Linked DNA regions of Homo sapiens: region 2 is linked to region 1. The links are contacts of gene promoters, found by promoter capture Hi-C in human tissues and cell types (Jung and others, 2019). All regions are on one chromosome and are shown on one strand. Each heading gives the region's core, a stretch centred on a gene start or on the middle of the fragment in contact. The rest is flanking DNA. Distances are from core to core; before and after follow the strand shown. Region 1 holds the start of PHC2 (polyhomeotic homolog 2). Region 2 overlaps PHC2 (polyhomeotic homolog 2).

What was found. Contacts are between HindIII fragments. The study calls those that stand out against the background at their distance.
Region 2: a fragment that was not itself captured here is called in contact with the fragment with the promoter of PHC2 in region 1 in 5 of the 25 tissues and cell types used here (IMR-90 fibroblasts, aorta, heart right ventricle and 2 more).

The regions. Positions count from the first base shown.
Region 1 is chr1:33,429,070-33,433,765 of GRCh38, forward strand. PHC2 (polyhomeotic homolog 2) reads right to left here and starts at 2,026. Exons shown (of 15, transcript NM_001385109.1): 1 at 1,907-2,026. RefSeq lists a silencer at 1,710-2,229. The HindIII fragment of the contact is 10,287 bases long and covers 1-4,696 here.
Region 2 is chr1:33,341,415-33,346,394 of GRCh38, forward strand. All of the region lies in intron 9 of PHC2 (polyhomeotic homolog 2), which reads right to left. Among named protein-coding and RNA genes, the nearest start is that of PHC2-AS1, 6.4 kb to the right of the region's middle. RefSeq lists an enhancer at 816-1,424. The HindIII fragment of the contact is 8,646 bases long and covers 1-4,980 here.

The DNA.
Region 1 (4,696 bases), core at 776-3,275:
CTCTTTTTGTATGATTTAGATTTGCCCCTCTCAGATGCTGCCTCTAGTGCCAAACATTATGCCCAGTTTCAGGCCCTCTCCCTTGGAGCAACTGAAAACTACTCCTATTCAACCTCCACATGATGGACCCTTACTTGGGAAGATATGGGTGACAAAGACCAGGAATGAGGCTCAGAAAAACTGATGAGGGGAAAATATGGGGGAGAAAACAATAAGAAAAATATCACTGGACAACTGTGCTGGGAATAAGAAATTCTAGGCTACTTTTAGAAAGTTACATTACAGAGGAAGGAAAAAAAGCCATAGTTACAATAGAAAGCCATTCCCTAGAGATAACATATTCTTTATGTGGCTGCATTCGCTGTTCCCCCGCTTTGGCTGCCTTTTCAGTCCTTTCCAATTTTCTCTGCAAGGTAAACTCCTATTTATCCTTCAACACCTTGCTTAAATGTGTTCTCTGGAAAGCCTTCCCTGGTCCTCTCAGACAGCTAATTGTTCCCTCCTCTGTGCTTCCAAAGCCCTTTGCATTCACATCTATTATGCTGTTAATCACTTTTACTAGCAATTTCATTTGTTTCTCCTACCACTTCTTTCAGGACAAGGACTAATTATCTTATTCATCTTTGCATCCCCAAGACATAGCAGAGTGCCTGGCATATGCCAAGTATTTGTTGTTGGGTGATAAAAGACATCAAGAGCAACGTGGAAGTGGAATTTGCACTTCACTTGCAAAATCAAATTGGTTTCTGGTACTTTTCAATTGTAACCGCATTTTCTCTTGATTTAGAAGGAACGACTTTAGACTCACAAAAGAAACTCTATTGATATCACGGGCGCATTAGCCGATTTTTCATCCCCACTGGTGATAGAAATATTTTTTACCCCACACTTCCAAGAAACTCCCAGGGCAAGCTTAGTATCAGTGGCGCATCTCTCCTCCTACCATTTCTATTGTCGCAAAAGCTAAATTACACTGTGAGCCTAAAGCTGCCACCAGTCTTAGTGAATTGGGGGAGGGGGATAATTACAAGAAGACACTTCTGTAGCAGACCTGGGGAGGGGGGAAGATGAATTTAAACCTCGCCTTATAAGAAATTTGTTAGACACTCACGTAGAACAGCCGCTTCCTCCGTGTATGACAGACCCGATCCAGGTGTCCAGCAGCGACCTTTTCCCATGGGTGTCAGGTCATCACTCAGCACAGAAAACAAGGGACCAGCGCCTTTCTAGGGCATCCCTCCTTCTCCAACCTTGGGGCCCGCTTTTCCTTTAGACGACTGTTCTCTCCTCCCAGTTCCAGCAACCCCCGGTTCCCTCTGCTGGTGCCCCCCACGCCACGCTTGACTCTGGGCCGAAAGTGCCAGCGGCTGCGCTGTCACGCCGCGGCTGGGGAGCGGGCGCCCCGGTCAGGCCCGACGCCCGGGTCTCACCGCACTCTGCGGGACAAGCGGAGCAGGCGCAGGCCGCGCAAGACCACGGGCTGCCGCGGCGCGGGCCTCTCCGCAGGAGGGGGGTCGGTCCCCGGAGAAAGCGAGTCACTGACGGGACCTTGGCCCGTTCCCGTTCCGGTTCCCGTTCCCGGCAAGCCTCGGCCCCAGGCTCTCCGCAGCCCTCCTCGCTGCGCGTTCCCGGCCCGGGGGCGCCGCGCTCTGCCGGTCGCCGGCCGGGACTGCGGGCTCCCAGCGCGGGCCCCACGCCGCGGACCAGGGGTCAGGCCGCCTGCCGCCCGCCTGTCCGTGCCCATGGCAATGCCCCGCCCCGCGCGGCCCGTCCCGGCCGAGCGCTCCGGCCCGACCGTGACAGCTGGGTGCCCAAAGGGTTAAGCCGGCAGCGCGGCGGCCGGTGTCCCCCGCGCGCTGCCCGTCAGCCGCGAGCTGGCCCCAGCGCGCACGCGCCCGCCCGTTACCTGCGGTCGCCTCCGCGCTCCTCCTCCACCTGGCCGCTCTCTCCCGGGGGCCGCCCCTCAGCCCGCCCCCTCGGCTCGGCGCCGCGCACCCTGCTGGCTGCTCGGACGCTGCCCGCGGAGGAGGGGCGAGGGCGCTATTACCATATATTAGCATACCAGCGCGCGTCACGTGGCCGCTCCAGCCAATGGTCACCCTAGAAGGGCGGGGATTGGGCGGAACACGCCTTAGTGCTGCTCCCAGCCTGAACCGGTGGCCATGGCAACGGGCGGGTGGGCGGGGGAGTGGGGAGGTGCCGGAGCCCGGTGCCCCCGGGAGCATCTCCTCTACCTGAGCGCCACATGGCGACCACGCGCAGTTTTCCCACCTTGCGGATGGAGAGATTTGTCTCAGCCAGAGAGATCCAGATTCAGCCAACATTTATTGAGCACTTACCACGTGCCTTAACACTTTGCTGCAGAAAGTGATGTCTGTCCTATTAACCCCACTAGATAGTAGGGAAAGTGGAGGCTCAGAGAGGTTAGATCATTCGCTCAAGATCATACAACAACATTAAATGGCAAAAGTGGAGATCTAAGATCATTTTTGACTTCAGACCCGGGACAATCGCCAGTTTTTTCAAATCCAGCAGGGGTCTCCTAGCACCTCCTCACAATTTCAGGTGTGCTGTGCAGTTGAGAAAATCCTTGTACATAATTTGTACAGCGTTTTACTGTTTCCTTACAGTGACCTTTGAGATTAATAGGCAGAATAGTTATGCCTGTATTACAAAGGAGAGAAAATGAGGCTCAGAGAGGCCATGTGACATAATTTAGGTCAAACAGCTATTAAGAGCTAATGCTGAGTTACACTGATTTATACTGAAGCTCATTACTTTAGAAACTTTTAAATTCAGTCTTCTCAACATGGTGGAATTACTGTGACCATTCTATGGATTAAGAAACCGAGACTTTGGGAAGTTAAGCAAATTGCCCAACGTTATACAGCTAGTAAGTAGCAGATTTAGGGTTCAAATCCAGGTTTATCTGGCCCCCAAAGCTAGTCTCATTGTATCAGATTTATTTAATTTAGGATTGGACTTAGAATCCCTTCTCTAATAGAATTTTGTCTCCTCTCAAGATATGATGGTGTTACGTCTTAATCCCACAGCAAATATACCTTGTGACAAGTGACATGTGTTAAGGTCACAGAGGCTATATATTAAGAGAATAGAGTCACCAGGTAGGTAAGGGGCACTGTAGAATTCTCTGTCTTTCCTTTGTTTTTTGTTTTTTTTTGTTTGTCTGTTTTTTGTTTTTTGTTTTTTTTGAGTCCGATCTCGCTCTTGTCACCCAGACTGGAGTGCAATGGTGCGATCTTGGCTCACTGCAACCTCTGCCTGCTGGATTCAAGCTATTCTCCTGACTCAGCCTCCTGAGTAGCTGGGATTACAGGCATCTGCCACCACACCCGGCTAATTTTTGTACTTTTAGTAGAGACAGGGTTTCGCCTTGTTGGCCAGGCTGGTCTCGAACTCCTGACCTCAGGTGATCTGCCCGCCTTGGCCTCCCAAAGTGCTGGGATTACAGGCATAAGCCACCGCGTCCGGCTTATGCCTGTCTTTCCATTTTTACCTTAGGGATTTGATAGTTTAGCTAAAGGCACAGTAGTTTAAAAACACAAACATCTGTGTACAGACTTGTTTAGCTCAGTGATTCTCTAATTTTATTTATTTATTTATTTTTTAGAGACAGAATTATGCTCTGTCATCCAGGCTGGAGTGCAGTGGTGTGATCATAGCTCACTATAACATTGAACTCCTGGGTTCAAGTGATCCTCCTGCCTCAGCCTCCCGAGGAGTAGCTGTGACTACAGGCATGCACCCCAACACCCGGGTAATTGTTATGTTGCCCAGGTTTGTCTCGAACTTCTGGCCTCAAGCAATCTTCCTACTTGGGCTTCCCAAAACTCTGGGATTCACAGGTGTAAGCTACCACATCTGGCCATGGTTCTCTAACTTTAATATATTTATGGATTACTGGACAGGGCTCTGTGCCTCAAACTAAATGTGCTAAACTTTATAGACATTTAAAGGGATCATCAAAGGTAATTTTGAATATACGTACATTTCACCTTCCTAGACTGCTTTAAAACCCAATTTCCTCCTAAAACATGACTGGTGCTTAAGAGCACAAACATAGAAGCAGACCTGCTTGGGTTAAAAATCCTGACTTGGCCACTCATTGACTGTATGACCTTGGGAAAGTTACTTAAACTCTCTGTGCCTCAATTTCCTCATTTGTAAAATAGGATAGAAATGTTGTGAGAATTTAATGACTTACTGTATGTGTGTATATATATATACACACACTTAACTTCCCAAAGTCTCGGTTTCATATATATATATATATATAAACGTTTCATATATAGGCCCCGGCCCAAGGATAAACCCTCCATAATTGATAGCTAATGTCATTTTTGTTATTATCCCAGGAGTTTTCCTAGGAACAGACAACCCACATGTACACAATATCTCAAGGCTTCCTAGCTAGCTTTGGAATTCTGAAGCTGCCTTCCTTCCCTCGTGGCATATTAAACAGCCTGTTGTGCTGCTGAAGGCTTGTTATCTCTCCAAATGACATTCTCTCTTCTTGGGATCATAAATAATTCCTGCACTCAAAGGAACTGGTTTCTCTTGCACATCTCCTAGCACCAAATTACTGGAGTTGCTCCTTGCAGAAGGGGATCTTGACAAACAGTGGAGTCATAAGTCAGGCTCCTTGAAACACTTTTATGAGCGCCTTAATGAGGGA
Region 2 (4,980 bases), core at 1,286-3,785, 87 kb before region 1:
TATCACATGTGGGCTGGAGCATTTGGGTTGGGAAGCACAGGATGATCTAGATGAGTGATTCCCAAATTGGGATTCCTGGATGACTAAGCAGGATCCCTGAATCTAGTTAATCAGGACGCACAAGCTGGATTCAATATCTGAAGAAGCCGAAAAGGAAACAGCACATAATATATACCTTCAGGAGGGCAAAACATGCTATTATTTAATATCATGTTACCATGTTTCCCAAATTCTAAAATGCAGTCAGTTGTTAAGATGACCCATTTCCCCCACAACGAATTTACACATTGATTACGTGTGCGTCTCAAGTACAGATTGTAAAAGTGTGCATTTTAGAATAAAACAAACGAATGCCATTTATTTGGAAGACAGTATCTTGTAAAACATGCACAAAATGAACTCTTAGTGGTGGGAAAATTATAGACCCTTCCCACCTGGGGTCCTCTGAATACCAGAAGGCAGGGGGAACATCCAATGTCTGCAGCCTTTTCAAATCTGCTAAGGGCAGAGCTGTCAAAGGGACAAGGACTCCTTGCCTTGACACAGCAGGCTGTGGCTCCCTGAGGAACCTCTCTGAAGCACCTCCTCTGAAGGACCTCTCCCAGAGAAGGGAAGGCACAGCAGTGACAGAAGGACCCTGTGGGGCTCTTTGCTGAGAAAACTGGTGAGCTTTTCAGGCACAGGAGGGTCACTGGCTGCGGATGACTGAGATCCACACCTGAGTTCCTTGCAGGGGGCTGGCCAGCAGGATGAAGGAGAGGCCAAGCCAGGGGACCCTCCAGCCTTGCCCTCAGCGTCACTGCAAAATGCTCTTGCTGGGTCTGGGTTGAAAGGTTTGGAGAGCTTACTGGATTTTAAGCATCTGTGTTGACCAGCTCCCGTTAAGGCATCTGGCAGGGAGGGGGCTCCTCCCATGCTGGCAGCCATTACCATACAGCTGACTTTCATGCTGTCTCTCAGGACACAGGCAAAGAGAACGGCCCTTCTGACTCACCCACAATCCCCAGCTAAAGTGTACATAAGCTGAATTGTAAACAGCTGAATGTGCTCCAAGCTGCCACCCCCAGCTATGCAGGAAGGAATCAATGGAGCGAACAGCCACCCTCCCCCCACCCCATGCAGTTCAGGACAACGGGAGCAGTGGGGGATTTCCAAACAGCTGCTTGAACGCTTCCCAGCCCACAGGCTGAGGACTGCAAGAGGGGCCTGAGCTCAAACTCAGCAGCAGCACCTGCAGGACCAGAGTGACTTCCACCAGGTCAACACACCAGGGAATAATAGCTGGCCCTGGCTGCAGGGAGTCAGGGAGGAGTTTTCAAAGAGTTCTACTTAACCCTGGTGATGGAGGCCAGTCCACTGGTATCCAATGCCAGGGTCAAGGGCTCCCAGATAGTCTCACATCATAGTGCTCCGGCCCATGCTATGATTTCAAAACGCAAAATGTCTAGAACCAATGGGAGAGGTTCTACAGTAGACACTAAGATCAGGGGAGATAAAAGGAAGAATGGCAGAGTAGAAAGAGCATGGGCTCTGGGGGCCAGACCTGGACTCATATTCTGTTCCACCTTTAATCAAAGGTGTGTGGCTTCAAGCACTCACTGCCTGTTCTGAGTCTTGGTTTCTCCATCTGTAACAACGAGGCTCATACTACCTACCTGTCTGGGAGGTTTCAGTAAATATTATATATGTAAAATGCCTGGCACTGAATACACGCAGAAGCTGTGCTACATGGCAGTTAAGACTGTGGGATTAGAAAGACTCTAGGCGGCCAGGTACAGTGGCTCATGCCTGTAATCCTAGCACTTTGGGAGGCTGAGGTGGGTGGATCACGACGTCAAGAGATTGAGACCATCCTGGTCAACATGGTGAAACCCTGTCTCTAGTAAAAATACAAAAAAAAAAATAAATAACTGGGTGTGGTGGCGAGCGCCTGTAGTCCCCGCTACTCGGGAGGCTGAGGCAGGAGAATTGCTTGAACCCTGGAGGCAGAGGTTGCAGTGAGCCGAGATTGCACCACTGCACTCCATCCTGGCAACAGAGCAAGACTCTGTCTCAAAAAAAAAAAAAAAAAAAAAAAGACTCTAGGCTTAAATCCTATCCTGTAATGCTGGACAAGTTACTCTAGGCCTCTTTCCTCATCTATGAAATGGGATACTTATATCTGTCTTACATATAGCTGTGGTGAGGATTAAATAATGTAATGCAGGCACAACACACTGGACTAGGCTGAGCTTGGACACAGGAGTGCCAACGTCACTGAGACCTGTGAGAAGATTAGGAAATCATTCTAATCTCACTCTTTCACTGAGTCTGGCCTCTTACAGCCCCAGAGCAGGGCTAATCTTTCCGTGGCCCAAACTGAGGTATCTGAGGTTTGTGTTCCTCAGACGTCTTGGTCTACGTCGGTAGTCCTGTCCTTGCACTGTTGAGGTCAGGCTTCAGGAAGAAATGTTACCTCCACTGTGACTGCAACATAACAGAAATGCTTCTGTCCTAAAGGGCAAAGCAAAGTCTCAAGTCACCTTCAATGGCTATTAATCTAAAGGACAAGAAGACAAGCACCAGATTCTCTTTCTATGCAGTTTTTTCATAAAGGGGGGTTTTAAGCAGACAGTGCAGAAGAACCCTAGAAACCAAAAGAAAGGTTAACTTTAAGACAAATAAAAGGAAGCACTGCTTTACTTAGAAAATACTAAATTTATGTAACTTGTAATGCCAGATGATTTAGCTTATGAAAAGAAATTAGTTTAAAAGGCTAAAAATAAACCCAGTTTAAGATAAACTCATGGAAGATGGATTTCTACCGGTTTACAAAAGAAATCTAGAAATGTTTAGTAAACTCTCCAATTATTTTCAGGTTGATAACAGGGAAAGGCAGCCATGTTCCCCAATATGATGACTATTTTTTTGGTTATCAACTGCAGCATCACTAATATTGTTAGATAAATGTCAGGGGAGACTGGGAGGAGGGAACACTAAGCCTCAGTTGTCCTGTCTATATTATGGACTACATACTACATACCTTGCAAATCAGTTCTATTGATCATTTCTGCTCATGGAAACATTACTCCTTTCCTCCTTATAACCATTGTCTAAGCTTCCAGTCAACCCTATTTTGCCACCAGTCAACTGATAGAACAGATTAATACTGATTACTGGAGGCCTCAAAATATGGATTTAATCAAATTTTTTTATTTTTTATTTTTTGAGATGAGGCCTCGCTCTGTCACCCAGGCTGGAGTGCAGTGGCACGATCATGGCTCACTGAAGCCTCGACTGTCCACACTTAAGCGATCCTCCCACCTCGGTCTCCTGAGCAACTGAGACCACAGGCGTGTGCCACTATGCCCAGGTAATTTTTTTTTTTAATTATCTGTAGAGGCGAGGTCTTGTTATATTGCTCAGGCTGGTCTCGAACTCCTGCGCTCAAGTGATCCTCCTGCCTCGGCCCCCCAGGCATGAGCCACCGTGCCTGGTCCCAATTTTTTTTTTTAAAGTAGTTGCTTCATATTAGTTTTGTTTTAATTTAAAGTGTCATTTGCTTTGATTGTTCAAAAATGTCTTAATATAGCTGTGTGGCTTTAGGTCACATATGGATGGTTTCAAATATGCTAAAGATACCAGTAACTAGGGATAATTATATAGTATTTGAGACATAACAGCCATGCAACTAGAGTTTTAAAAATAACTCAAGCAGTCACGAACTTTCATTTTCTTGCCAACAGTTCCAATATTCAGTATCAGGCCTGGTCCTCCTAATCTACTGGAGAAGAGTTGGTTATGGCATGGCATCTAATAGTCATCTCTTCTTAATACAAATGATAATAAATTTCACTGCTAAGACGACAATCATCTGAAAAAAACAGACATTTGCTTATGTTTTAAAGTCATAATAGCAAACTGGGGCTCTCTTCAACATCTGGATTCATCTCAGAGCACTGGCAATCTGTGTTTAACAGCAGTCATGTCTTTACCAGATGTAGAAAGAATGTTCTCTTCTTTTGGACTTACCTAAATATCATTTGGAAATTGGAAGAACAGGAAAGCATATCCTTTTTCACTAACTATAAAAATAATTTGGAAGGAGAAGGAAACAAAAAAAACCTTGAAGTTTTCTATGCTGGTCTACATGGTCTTACAATGAATCTCAGAGCAACGGTTTATGACTTAAATTATATGCTGTGTTCCTTAGCATACTTTTTCTTCAAAAACTAGTAATTCTAAATTGTATAATTCTTGACTATGATAAAAGAGCCCATTTCTTGACCATGTCATTTATACTGGACTTTTGTTACTGATGGGGAAAAATCCAGAATTTGTAATAATTATGTCTTGGATATGCAAATGGTTGATTATTTTCCTAACAATTCCCAAAATATCCACATCATAAAGCAGAATTAAAGATGGTTTGCCTCTCAATACCTTTAGAAATATCAAATCAGTGTTCTGATGTGGCTAGTAATTCAAATGAAAAATGTTAAATAAGTCATTGCTTCAAGTGAAGCCTACCTCTGTTTGAGTTGTGAATAAGTAGTTATCTTAAATAGGCAACTTTTTTTAAAAACAGAAAACATATTCAAAAAGGGTTTTAACTGGTGACTCATAGTTTAAACCATGCCCTAAAAACATTTAAAGCATAAATCTATGTGTTCAGACTCCCATCTTGAGGGGTAGTTCAGTTTTGGGTTCCATGAAACAAGGTGTTAAGTCCCCAAAGAGAGAGCCATTTCTGTCATTGGCACAAAGTCCCCATCAGAGTAGACTGCATAACGCAGTCAGTTCTCACCCTGCTTTCCCATAGGGCTGGGGACTGGGGGGAGGTGGGGAGGGTGGGCAGGCTCAGAGGGGCACCTCACTCCAGGACAGTCTCCTGAGGGGTACACAAAAGCCTCTCTCTACAACCACTTTTGTGAGATTCCTCCTGACCACAGAAAGTCATCATCATGATCATCTTTCAGTAGCAAAATGGCACAAAACAAA